Linked DNA regions of Homo sapiens: regions 1 and 2 are each linked to region 3. The links are contacts of gene promoters, found by promoter capture Hi-C in human tissues and cell types (Jung and others, 2019). All regions are on one chromosome and are shown on one strand. Each heading gives the region's core, a stretch centred on a gene start or on the middle of the fragment in contact. The rest is flanking DNA. Distances are from core to core; before and after follow the strand shown.

Region 1 (4,502 bases), core at 693-3,192, 1.3 Mb after region 3:
CAGTTTGACGTGCTTGGTCTAAGATGCCTGTGGGATATCCGCTTACAGATGTCTAGTGGGCTGCTGGATATATTTTAGTTTTGGAACTGATGAGAGAGATGTGATTGAAGACATACATTTGAGAATCATTCCCTCTCTAGCATATCCATTTTACTTTCTACCTAGCAATTCTTCTATCCCACTAGCCCTCCCATTTATTGATCCTATCACCTTTTCCGTGTCCCTCCCTGGATATTCTCTTCCCCTCGTTAGTGTAAATTCCATGGCCAGTCATTGTAGTTCCCTTTGCATTTGAATCCCACATTCCTCTATTGCTTCATCATACTCACTTGCCAAAACTGTAGTCCTGGTTCCTCCCAGCTCTCCACCCACTGCATACCTATACATGCAGTTGATCATGGCTGTCGGTGAAAAGCACACCACCGGTTAACTCGTCTCACTGACATACCGATCGGTCTCAAGGTGGGCCCTTTATGCTGCCCTGGCAGTCATTCTACACCTGCAGTTTATACATTCTCCTCCTCTCCTGTATGATTTCTTTGTACCTTCTCCTCTCTCCTCAGATTAGCAGTACCTCCTCTCTCATCCTCACTCTTGCCTGTTGATCTTCTTTCCAAGTTCACTGAGAAAATGGAAGCAATATGAGAACTTGCACACTTTCACTATCACCTACCAGCAAGCCTCTCCCTGTTTCTCTGTATCATAGAACTTGATATCAGTATATCTCATATATATTGATAAACTTTTATTTATTCCATCTTGGAAAAAAACTCCTCATTCTCATTCCCACCAGTTACTGTCCTGTTTGTTTCCTTTCCTTCATAGAACTCAAAAGAGTTGTCTAAAGTCTATCTCCAGTTCCTCACTTCCCATTTCTCTTGAACTCACCCCAACAAACTTTTGTCCCTAACACTCCACTGAGACTGTTCTCATTTCTAAATTCAGTGGTCAGTACTTAGTCTCAAATTACTTTTGAATGATCAGTGCATTTGACACACTTGTTCACCCCCTCCTGTGTGATATGCATTCTTCACTTGGTGTCAAGAATTATACTGTCTCTTGTTTTTTTCCTACTTCGCTGGATGTTCCAGTTTTCTTGGCTGCTTCCCACTTTGCTCCTTGACCTCTCAATGTAGTAGTGTACCCGGGTTCAGTCCCAGTCCTCTTCTCTTACAGATTCTGTCCAGTCTCAGGACTTCCCATGACATATGCTAATAACTCCTAATTTACATAAATCCCAGACTTCTCTACTGAATTTGAAACTCGTAGATCCATATGCCTCCTTTACATTTCCACATGGACGTCTGACACCTCAATCTCAACAGGACCAAAGCTGATCTCCTGATCTGCTCTCCCTCCCTAAACCTGCTTTACCTGCCACCTTCTTCATCTCAGTTGATTCCAACTCCATCTTTTCAGTTGCTCAGACAAAACACCCTCTGATGTATCTCTGACTTCTCTTTCGTATCCAATCAGCTGGGAATTCTGTTTCAGAATATCTCCAGAATTTGGTTACTTCTCACCATTGCCAGTGCTGTTCCTAGTGCAGGCCAATGTTTTCCTGGGATTTTTGCAGTAGCTTCCGTGATTGTATTCTACAGTCCATAATCAAAACAGCAGACAGTGAGTGCCCCCGCCTTTTTTCTTTTTTCTTTTTTCTTTTTTTTGAGACAGGGTCTCACTCTGTTGCCCAGGCTGGAGTGCAGTGGTGTGATTTCAGGTCACTGCAGCCTCCACCTCCTGGGTTCAAATGATTCTCATGCCTCAGCCTCCTGAATAGCTGGGATTACAGGCGTGCACCACCACACCTGGCTATTTTTTGTATTTTTAGTAGAGATAGGGTTTCAGCACGTTGGCCAGGCTGATTTTTGCATTTTTTTGTAGACAGTTTCATCATGTTGCGCAGGCTGGTCTCGAATTCCTGACCTCAGGTGATCCACCTGCCTTGGCCTCCCACAGTGCAGAGTGAACCTTTTAAAATAAAAGTCAGTTCGTATCATTCCTCTGCTAAAATCCTTCCAGTGGTTCCTTCATCTCACTAAGTGCAGAAGGCCCTACAGTTTTGTCTCTTCACCTCTCTGTCTGGCTCTCCTCTCCCTCACCCCCTCTTCTGCAGCCACACTTGCTGTTCTTGGGCATGCCATGCATGCATGGATGCTCCCACTTTAGGGGACTTGCACTGGCTCTTCCTTTGCCTGGTATGCTGTCCTCCAATTGTTTGCATGGCAGGCTCCTCACCTCCTTCAAGTCTTTACTCACGTGTTACCTTCTTAACCTACCCGGATTGCCTTATTTAAAATTGCAACCCTCCCTTCCTGCAACTTTCCTGGCTCATACCTGGTGTTCGCAGTTTCCCTTAACACCTCACACCCCACATCCCCTGTAGTGCATATCACCTTCTAACATAACCATTTAATTCACTTACTTTGTTTATTGACACTCTTCTCCCGGTAGCTGGTAAGCAGGCCAGGGATCTTTATCTGTTCTGTTCACTGATACATCCCAAATGCTCACCACAGTAGGTGCTCAATAATTGTGGTAAATGGATGTGTGAATGAATTCACACGTGAGACAGTGGGAGTGAATGGGATTGCCTGTGGAAGGTGTTTTGGGATGAAAATAGAAAGTGGAGGACTGAATCCCTGGATCTGCCTTTAATCAGTAACAGAAGAAGAAGTAATAACCTAGAAGTTAGTACTCTAGGTATTAGGAGAGTGTATTAGTCTGTTTTCACTGCTAATAAAGACATACCCAAGACTGGGCAATTTACAAAATAAAGGGTTTAATTGGACTTACAGTTCCACGTGGCTGGGGAGGCCTCACAATCATGGGGGAAGGCAAAGAGGAGCAAGTCACATCTTACCTGGATGGCAGCCAGTAAAGAGAGGGCCTGTGCAGCAAAACTCCAGTTTTTAAAACCATCAGATCTCGTGAGACTCATTTACTGTCACAAGAACAGTGCAGGAAAGACCTGCCCCCATAATTCAATCACCTCCCACTGGGTTCCTCCCACGACACATGGGAGTTGTGGGAGTTACTATTCAAGATGGGATTGGGGTAGGGCACAGCCAAACCATATCAGATAGTATAACCAAAAGTCAGTTGGAGAAAATGATATCCAGGGAGAACTGCAGGGATGATATATGGCCTATTGGTTCTTTTTGATACTCTGATTTTAATCTTTGGCTTAAGCCAAACCATTAGAGAGCTGCATATCTAGGACATTGTTACAGCTCCTTATGGAACTGTTTTTATATTACTGAGCTTTGACTATTGGCCATTAGCCTACCATGAAGGACATTATTTAAAAAATCCCATGAGACTTCATTATATCATTGAATTTACTGCAGCTGTGTTGTTGAGGATAATGTTCTTTATGTTAGAAGGTGCCCTCTTTAAATGAGGACCAATGAGATTAAGTTCCCTTAAGTTTCATAACAGTAATAACTGTGCTTCTTTTGAATGACTTGTTTGATTTTATTTTATGGAGATTGTATTTTGTGTCAACTGTCCTCCCTCCCTCCTTCCTTCCCTCCCTCTCTTCCTTCCTTCCTTCTCCATTGGTGTTTAATATATGCACAGAGTTGTGCAACCATCACCACAATCAATTTTAGTACATTTTCATCTCCTCAAGAGGACACCTCATACCCTTTAGCTTTTACTCCCAAATCCCCTCATGCTCTCTAGCTCTAGGCATCCGCTAATTTATTTTCTATCTCTATAGACTTACCTATTCTGGATAGTTCATGTAAATTGAACTATATAGTATGGGGTCTCCTGTGTCTAGCTTTTTTTAACTTAGCGTAATATTTTCCAGGTTCATCCATGTCATAACACATATCAGTACTTCATTCCTTTTTGTGGCTGAATACTATTCCATTGTATGGATGACACCACATGTTTTTAATCTACTCATCATCAGTTGATGAAAATTTAGGTTCTTTCCACTTTATGGTTATTATGAAAAATGCTGCTCTGAATGATCATTTGCAAGTTTTTGTGTGAACGTGTTTTAATTTCACTTGGGTAAAGCTTAGTGGTAGAATTGCTGGGCCAAATGGTAACCCTGTGTTTAACATTTTGAGGAGCTGCCAGACCGTTTTCCAAAGTGGCTGCACCATTTTACACACCCTACAGTACCTTTGACAACACTTGTAATTATCTGACTTTTTGATTTAGGCTATCGTAGTAACTGTAAAAACTGGCATATACGGTGGCTTTGATTTTTATTTCCATGATGGCTAATGATGTTGAGCATCTTTTCATGTGCTTATTGGCTATTTGTATATCTTCTCTGGAGAAATGTCAGTACACATCCTTTGCTCTTTTATTTTTTGGCTATTATTGAGTTGTATTAGTTATTTATATATTCTAGATATAAGTCCCTTATCAGATATATGGAACTTACTTTTTTTTTCCATTTTGTGGCTTGTCTTTTCACTTTCTTGATAATGTCCTTAAGTACAAAAGATTTTAATTTTGATTTAGTGCTATTTATCTTT
Region 2 (4,357 bases), core at 1,139-3,638, 1.0 Mb after region 3:
ATGATGCTAGCTGGTTATTTTGTACGCTAGTTGATAGTTTCTTCATAGTATGGTTGGTCTTTATATATTGGTATCTCTTTGCAGTGGCTGGTACCAGTTTTTCCTTCCCATATTTAGTGGTTCCTACAGGAACTCTTGTAAGGCAGGCCTGGTGGTGACAAAAATCCCTCAGCATTTGCTTATCTGTAAAGGATTTTATTTCTCCTTCACTTATGAAGCTTAGTTTGGCTGGATATGAAATTCTGAGTTGAAAATTCTTTTCTTTAAGAATGTTGAATATTGGCCCCCACTCTCTTCTGGCTTGTAGGGTTTCTGCAGAGAGATCTGCTGTTAAGTCTGATGGGTTTCCCTTTAAGGGTAACCTGATCTTTCTGTCTGGCGCCCCTTAACATTTTTTTCTTCATTTGAACCTTGGTGAATCTGATGATTATGTGTCTTGGGGTTGCTCTTCTTGAGGAGCATCTTAATGGTGTTCTCTGTATTTCCTGAATTTGAATATTGGCCTGTCTTGCTAGATTAGGGAAGTTCTCCTGGATAATATCCTGAAGTGTGTTTTCCAACTTGGTTCCATTCTCCTCATCACTTTCAGGTACACCAGCATAGGTTTGGGAAATAGTCCCATATTTCTTGGAGGCTTTGTTCATTCCTTTTCATTATTTTTTCTCTAACCTTGTCTTCATGCTTTATTTCATTAAGTTGATCTTCAGTCTCTGATATCCTTTCCTCCACTTGATCGATCCGGCTGTTGATACTTGTGTATGCTTCACGAAGTTCTCGTGCTGTGTTTTTTAGCTCCATCAGGTCATTTATGTTCTTCTATAAACTGGTTATTCTAGTTAGCAGTTCCTGTAATCTTTTATCAAGGTTCTTAGCTTCCTTGCATTGGGTTATAACATGCTCCTTTAGCTTGGAGGATTTTATTACCCACCTTCTGAAGTCTTCTTCTGTCAATTCATCAAACTCATTCTCTGTCCATTTTTGTTCCCTTGCTGGCAAGGACTTGTGATCTTTTGGAGGAGAAGAGGCATTCTGGTTTTTGGAATTTTCAGCATTTTTGCACAGGTTTTCCCTCATCTTCATGGATTTATCTACCTTTGATCTTTGATGCTGATGACCTTTGGATGGGATTTTTGTGTGGGTGTCCTTTTTGTTGATGTTGATATTATTGCTTTCTGTTTGTTAGTTTTCCTTCTAATAGTCAGGCCTCTCTTCTAGGGGCCTGCTGGAGTTTGCTGGAAGTCCACTTCAGACCCTGTTTGCGTGGGTATCACCAGCAGAGGCTACGGAACAGTAAAGATTGCTGCCTGTTCTTTCCTCTGGATGCTTTGTCCCAGATGGGCAACTGCTAGATTCCAGCTGGGGCTCTCCTGTATGAGGTGTCTGCCGACCCCTGCTGGGAGGTGTCTCCCAGTGAGGAGGCACAGGAGTCAGGGACCCACTTGGGGAGGCAGTCTTTCCCTTAGCAGAGCTCAAGCACTCTGTTGGGAGATCTGCTGCTTTCTTCAGAGCTGGCAGGCAGGAACATTTAAGTCTGCTGAAGCTGTGCCCACAGCCACTCCTTCCCCAGGTGCTCTGTCCTAGGGAGATGGGAGTTTTATCTATAAGCCCCTGACAGGAACTGCTGCCTTTCTTTCAGAGATGCCCTGCCCAGAGAGGAAGAATCTAGAAAGGCAGTCTGGCTATAGCGGCTTTGCTGCGCTGTGGTGGGCTCCGCTCAGTTCAAACTTCTTGGAGGCTTTGTTTACACTGTGAGGGGAAAACCGCCTACTCAAGCCTCAGTAATGGTGACACCCCTCCCCCCACCACGCTCAGGCATCCCAGGTTGACTTCAGACTGCTGTGCTGGCAGCGAGAATTTCAAGCTAGTGGATCTTAGCTTTCTGGGCTCCAGGGAGGTGGGACCCACTGAGCAAAACCACTTGGCTCCCTGGCTTCAGCCCCCTTTCCAGTGGAGTGAACGGTTTTGTTTCCCTGGGGTTCCAGGTGCCACTGGGGTACAAAAAAGAACTCCTGAAGCTAGCTCAGTGTCTGCCCAAACGGCCACCCAGTTTTGCGCTTGAAACCTAGGGCCCTGGTGCTGTAGGCACCCTAGGGAATCTCCTAGTCTGAAGGTTCTAAAAACCGTGAAAAAAGTGTAGTATCTGGGCCAGATACCGTCCCTGCCGGCACTGTGCATCACGGCTTCCCTTGACTAGGGGAGGGAGTTCCCTGATCCTTTGTGTTTCCCAGGTGAGGCGATGCCCTACCCTGCTTCTGCTCACCGTCTGTGGGCTGCACCCACTGTCTAACCAGTCCCAATGAGATGAACTGGGCACCTCAGTTGGAAATGCAGAAATCACTCACCTTCTGCATTGGTCTCACTGGGAGCTGCAGACCAGAGCTGTTCCTATTTGGCCATCTTGCTGAGTTGTCCTCTTGACTCCCTTTAGTATAGATCTTTCGGTGGTCAACTCTCTCTGGTTTTTTGTTTGTTTGGTTTTAGTTTTTTTGGGACAGAGCCTTGGGCTGTCTCCCAGGCTGGAGTGCAGTGATGTGATCTCAGCTCACTGCAACCTCTGCATCCTGGGTTCAAGTGATTCTCCTGCTTCATCCTCCTGAGTAGCTGGGACTACAGGCACATGCCACCACGCACAGCTAATTTTTATATTTTTAGTAGAGACGGGGTTTCACCATGTTGGCCAGACTGGTTTTGAACTCTTGGCCTCAAGTGATCCACCTACGTCAGCCTCCCAAAGTGCTGGGATTACAGGCATGAGCCACCACCCCCAGCCAACTCTCCTTTTTAATTGTTAAGAATGTATGCCTCTTGAAAAAAAAATGATTATCCTGTGTACACAGTCCTAGGAATCTATTTTTCTCAGCTCTTTCAGCATATTATTTTGCTACTTTCTGCCTTTTATTATTGCTCTTAAGGAGTCTGTTATTGGTCTGTCATTCCTTTATACATGATGTATCTTTTCTCTCAGGCTGCTTTTACATTTTGCTCTTTGTTTGGCATTCTACAGTTTTACTACAGTGTGTCTAGGTGTGGCCTTTTTAAAAAATCCTGTTTGGTATACATTCTGATTATTGCATCTCAGTTCTGCCAAACATATATAGCTGTTATCTTTAAATATCACCTCTCCTTCATTCCCTTTACTCTTGCCTTTAGGGTCTCCAATTATATATCTTTTAAGGCTTTTTATCTAATCCTCCATGTCTTTTAACTTCTCTTTTATATTCTCATCTCCTTGTCTCTTTCTGTTGCGTCCTAGGTAATGACATCAGATCTGTCTTCGAGTTTACTAAGTTTTTCTTCAAATAAGTCCAACCTGTTGTTTACCCTATCCATTGAACTGTTAATCTTTGTGATGACATTTTTCACTTCTAAAAGTTCTATTTGGTTCTTTTTCAAATCTGCCTGGTAATTTTGATAATGCTTGCTATAAAGATCCAGTAGAAAAATTAATTAACATTGTGAACTCACTAATAAACACATGATTAAAAAATCTCAACCCCATTCATAAATGAACTACAAGTTAAAATAGCAGTGAAATGTCTTTCATAACCATAAGGGAAAAATGCAGTAAGCTTGATAATACCAAATGATTAATTTCTGCCAGCATGTAGGGAAATAAAAACTTTTACATATTGTCATGGGAGTGTTAATTGGTAAGACCATTTGGAGAGTGATGTGACAATACCTGTTTGAAGATATCCTTCACCCCAGCAGTTCCCCTTCTAGCTGTCTAGCCTATGGAAAAATCTCACACATGTGCTACAAGGGATATGTAAAGGAAACATTAATTGCAGCATTGTCTGTAATAGTGAAAAAAAATGGGAATAGCCTAAATGTTCCTCAGTAGGAAAATAGATAACTATATTGTGGTTTATTCAAGCACCTCAATAATTGAACTATTACCAACATAGATATCCAAGGTATAGTGTTGAGAGAAAGAATTGCCAAAGGATACATGTCCGTTGCCATAATGTAAACATTTGAAAACACACATACAAAATTTATATATTGTTTATGGATACATACATATATACAAAAGTATAAAAACATACATCTTTAGTTGAATGATAACAGAAACAAAAGCATATCAGGCAAAATGTTGACACCTTTTTAATCTAGATAATCAGTATGTAATGGTTATATTATTTTCTGTACTTTTTATAATTAAATATGAAAATAATTTTTTAAAGATTTAGACTTTGTACCTTTTCCATGATTTATCACTTGTGCTGAGAGATAATGTAGAGGTCTTATTTCGAAAATTCCTCAGTTAATTCCTGTGCCAGGCTGGGCACAGTGACTCACACCATAATCCCAGCATTTTGGGAGGCTGAGGTAGGAGAATTGCTTGAGCCTAGGA
Region 3 (4,412 bases), core at 1,185-3,684:
GGTGACAAATTATAGTTCAAAAAACCCATATACTTTTTGTGATTATTAAATGCACTGATATATGCAAAACACATGGAGTTTAGCACACAGTATGTGCTCAATAAATATTAAAGCTAGTCATCATTGAGCATGAACTACATGCTGGCATTACTACAGACTTTCTTGTTGGGTAATCTTTACAAGTCATTTTAGTCTCAGCTAACTTAAAACCTGAAGAAGGTAACTTTAGGGATAATGTGCAATTTATTCAAAGCCACTTAATTAAAGCAGTAGATACGGAACTTGAATCCAAGATGCCTATTTCCAAGCCAATAATTTTTCCTCTACCCACTATAGTCTCAGCTGCCTCATGTCTACTGACACATGCAGGATGTTTGGTAAATGTCCACGTTACTTAAAAAGAAAGCTTCCATGCAAGCAAGGATGATCAAAAGTAACTCAGGAGTCATAATTAAAGAAACACAAATACAAATGTGATGCCATCTGCACCTATCAGTTTGGCAAAGTTTAAAATGGTTAATATCCAAGGCGGACAAAAGCATGGAGTAAGAGGCTCTATCATACATTGTGGGGGAGTAAAGTGACACAGCCTCCTTGGTAGGCAAACTTGGCAGTAGCTATTGATATTTAAAATGAACAACTCTTAGACCCACCAACTTTAGGAATTTCCTCAAACGACATATTTGCAGAAGTACAAAAATATTTTAAAAAAAAGAAGTAAAAGGATGTTCATTACAACACTGATCTATTCACAAAAAACTAGTCACAACATTAGTGTCCTTTAAGGAGAATGTTTAATTATGACACACTTAAACAAAAGTGGATTTTCTGGCCACTATGAAGAATGAAGTGAATCTCTAATATTGATACATAAGAATGTCCCGGCTGGGCGCAGTGGCTCATGCCTGTAATCCCAGCACTTTGGGAGGCCGAGGTGGGCGGATCGCGAGGTCAGGAGTTCGAGACCAGCCTGGCCAACATGGTGAAACCCCATCTCTACTAAAAATAGAAAAAATTAGCCGGGCGTGGGGCGCGCACCTGTACTCCCAGCTACTCTGGAGGCGGAGGTTGCAGTGAGCCGAGATCGCGCCACTGCACTCCAGCCTGGGAGACAGAGCAAGACTCCGTTTCAAAATAAATAAATAAATAAATAAATTTTTGCTGAAAAAGATGCCTAATAGTAGGTATGTCATAATACCAATTATGTACCAATAAGAAGATATAGATATACCTATGAAAAGACACAGGCTGGTGTCACCACAACTTCTGAAAAAATACAAGAGAAACTTAACGGTGGCTATCTTCAGGGAGTAGAATAGGACGGGGCTTTTAGGTTACATCCTTCTATACTACTAAATTTTTAATCGAGTAAATGTTACTTTTTAAAGTCATCTTTTTTAGGATGGGGAAAAATGCACGAAGGAAAGAGTCAAGAATAGCTACAGGGCAGATCCAGGTGGACATTATTTACCAAGGTAAAAAGCTTGAACTTTTCTCCAAAAACCAATGGGGAGCCATGTACAAGTTTTAATAGGGGCATGATATATTCAGCTTGGCGTTTTTAACACATGACACTGCTGAGGACGGTGTGGCCTGGCTCCGAACACAAGGACAGTGGGATGCAAATGGCCTGAAAGGAGAGTCAACAAAAATAACAGGTAAGCGGGAAGACAACACGCGAGTTACTCATTAGTAAAAGGTGACTGAAGCTGACTTCTAATACCAGCGTTTCTCAGAGCCCCAAAGACTATCTACCTCGGAATCACCCTATGACCCAGTTAAAATGCAGATGTCTGGGCCCCACCTCAGGGCACCTGGATGAAAACTTCCTGGAGGATGGAACCCCAGCAATCTGCAACTTTAAATGGGCCCACACTAAAGTTAGAGAACCACAGGCTCGCTCACAACCCTGACTTCTCCATGTCAGTTCCGATCTTTGCGAACCGCAGACAGGGAAGGTCTTCTCTCAGGGGTCATGCCCGCGGCCGCCCTCCACGGCGAGGTCCGCACTCGCGCAGCCGGCCCCGCGGCCGCCTCACCTGGTCGCACACTACCACGTCGAACTCCTCGTCGGCGAGGAACAGCACGTAGAGCGCCAGGAAAACCATGCGCACGTAGGCGCAGACGGCGGCGCCGCGGCCGCCCCAGCCCAGGCCTCGCGGCAGCCAGTCCCCGGCACAGCGCACCGGTAGCTCGCGGCTCTCGGCGAAACAGTGGCCCGGGTCGTAGTGCGCTGTCCAGATCTTCACGCTACACCCGCGCGCCTGCAGCGCCAGCGCCGCGTCCAACACCAGCCGCTCAGCGCCGCCCACGCCCAGGTCTGGGTGGAGGAACAGCACCGACGGCTTGGGAACCGAGTCCCGTTCCCGGCCCTGCTCCTCCGCCATGGCCCTGGAGCCGCAACTGCACCCCGCACCCTGATGGGGGTCTTCTGCGCAAGCTCCGCGCTCGTAGCTCCCAGCTGGCCACTGCGGGCCGACCCCGCCCTGCCGTACGTGCGTCAGTTAGGCCACATCAGCGCAAATCTGTGAGGGTCTAGTAACTGCCTGAGAAAATATCTTGTCTGACCCCGGTTATATTTTTCCTTCGGTAGGGATTGGACTTTCTGAAGGACGTTGTGATCCAAAGGAAGGAGGCCGGAGGTCTCTACTTCCCATACAGCAGGTAACTAAGTTGTCTGTAGCAGACTGTCTACAGGCATATCGTGAGACGACCCAGGCGTCCCTGGGGTCAGAGAGGACCTTGCCTGCAAGTCCGGGGGCGGGGCCTGAGTCAGTCTCGCCAGCTGCCGGTCTTTCGGGGGCTCCGTAACTTTCTATCCGTCCGCGTCAGCGCCTTGCCACCCTCATCTCCAATATGGTATGGCGGCCCTTCCATGATCCCCGCCTCTCCCAGAAGCCCTGACTCCTCCTGCTTTGCGCCGTGCTTTTCCTCTGTAGCTCCCTTGCTTCCCCCAGCCTCGGGTGTGGGTGTCTAGGCCGGGGTTCTGGGGCAGGCCTGCCGCGCTCACCCGTCTGTCTGCTTGTCTCCCTCTACAGCCTGGTCCGACCCCCAGTGGCACTAACGTGGGATCCTCAGGGCGCTCTCCCAGCAAAGCAGTGGCCGCCCGGGCGGCGGGATCCACTGTCCGGCAGAGGTAAGGAACCCTGCAGTTCGTTCGCTTCCAGACTCGGAGATAGGACCCAGAACCTCGCTGATTCTGGGGTGGAGACCCTAGCATGTGAAGATTGACAAAGGCAAAATGAGCTTCTAGTGACGTGGCCGTGGGAGTAGTTAAAGGCCTTTTGGGAGGAAGGCGACATTTTTTTTCTCGTTGCTCAGTTTAGGGCACTACTCTTAAAAAAGGAAAGTTAACAAACTGGAATAGAGTCAGAGATAACTTTGAGAAAACCGATGTCATTAAACTGGTGTCTCTGGACCTGAGGTTTGCACTCACATTTCCATCTGGCGGCCCCATAAGCAATCTGTCCTACAGATAACTCGTCCTACACAAAACTTAGTCTCTTTTCAGCTCAGCTCTCTCACTCTCAATTATATCTCCTTACTTCCATATGGCACTGTTGTACACTCATTTACTCAGAGCCAGAAACGTCAGCGTCATCTTGGATTTTTCTTATGCTCTTTCTCTCTCTAGTCATATGCCAGACTTTAAACTCTGCTTGAAAGCTTTCTCATAAGCTCTTTCCTTTTCCCTTTCTACTGCTTTGCATTTGCTACTTAACCCTTTTCTTCAGGCTGTTTGCTTTCCAGTCCATCGTTCGCTCTGCTGTTACTCTTCTGCGTAGTTTCTGTTACTTGTTGCTGAACTAAAAAAAACAAACAAACAAAAAAAAAAAACCGGGGGGATACCAAAGCTCTTAGTGGTCATTTCAGCCTAACCTTTCTTTTTCCTTTTTTTTTTTTTGGGATGGAATCTCACTCTGTCGCCCAGGCTGGAGTGCAGTGGCACGATCTCGGCTCACTACAGCCTTTGCCTCCAGAGTTCAAGCAATTCTCCTGCCTCAGCCTCCTGAGTAGCTGAGACTGCAGGCACGTGCCACCACACCCAGCTAATTTTTTGTATTTTTAGTAGAGACGGGGTTTCACCATGTTAGCCAGGATGGTCTCGATCTCCTGACCTTGTGATCCTCCGTCTCTGCCTCCAAAAGTGCTGGAATTACAGGCGTGAGCCACTGCGCCCGGCCTTCAGCCTAATCTTTCTTTGCTGTCCTATGATCCAGCACTCGTGAACCCATTACTGTTTTCTGAATTCACAAACTTTCTCCCTCATCTCAAGGCAAATTTCTACTTATTTTCCAAGACTAAGCTCAGGGGTTATTTCCTCTTGAGGCCTTCTCTGTCTGTAAGCAGCAGTAGCTACTAGTTTTCCCTTTTGCCCCCATAGCATTTTGTTCATATCATTATAAGACCAG

The links. Contacts are between HindIII fragments. The study calls those that stand out against the background at their distance.
Region 1: a fragment that was not itself captured here is called in contact with the fragment with the promoter of ALG2 in region 3 in 1 of the 25 tissues and cell types used here (aorta).
Region 2: a contact is called between a fragment that was not itself captured here and the fragment with the promoter of ALG2 in region 3, in 1 of the 25 tissues and cell types used here (heart left ventricle).

What each region holds. Positions count from the first base shown.
Region 1 is chr9:100,565,056-100,569,557 of GRCh38, forward strand. The region is part of intron 8 of MSANTD3-TMEFF1 (MSANTD3-TMEFF1 readthrough); the gene reads left to right. The region is part of intron 8 of TMEFF1 (transmembrane protein with EGF like and two follistatin like domains 1); the gene reads left to right. Among named protein-coding and RNA genes, the nearest start is that of CAVIN4, 11 kb to the right of the region's middle. The HindIII fragment of the contact is 7,104 bases long and covers 1-4,502 here.
Region 2 is chr9:100,235,409-100,239,765 of GRCh38, forward strand. The region is part of intron 5 of INVS (inversin); the gene reads left to right. Among named protein-coding and RNA genes, the nearest start is that of TEX10, 120 kb to the right of the region's middle. The HindIII fragment of the contact is 6,226 bases long and covers 1-4,357 here.
Region 3 is chr9:99,219,508-99,223,919 of GRCh38, forward strand. ALG2 (ALG2 alpha-1,3/1,6-mannosyltransferase) reads right to left here and starts at 2,435. Exons shown (of 2, transcript NM_033087.4): 1 at 2,040-2,435. The coding sequence starts at 2,387. SEC61B (SEC61 translocon subunit beta) reads left to right here and starts at 2,775. Exons shown (of 4, transcript NM_006808.3): 1 at 2,775-2,859; 2 at 3,039-3,136. The coding sequence starts at 2,857. RefSeq lists an enhancer at 2,525-2,844. The HindIII fragment of the contact is 4,819 bases long and covers 945-4,412 here.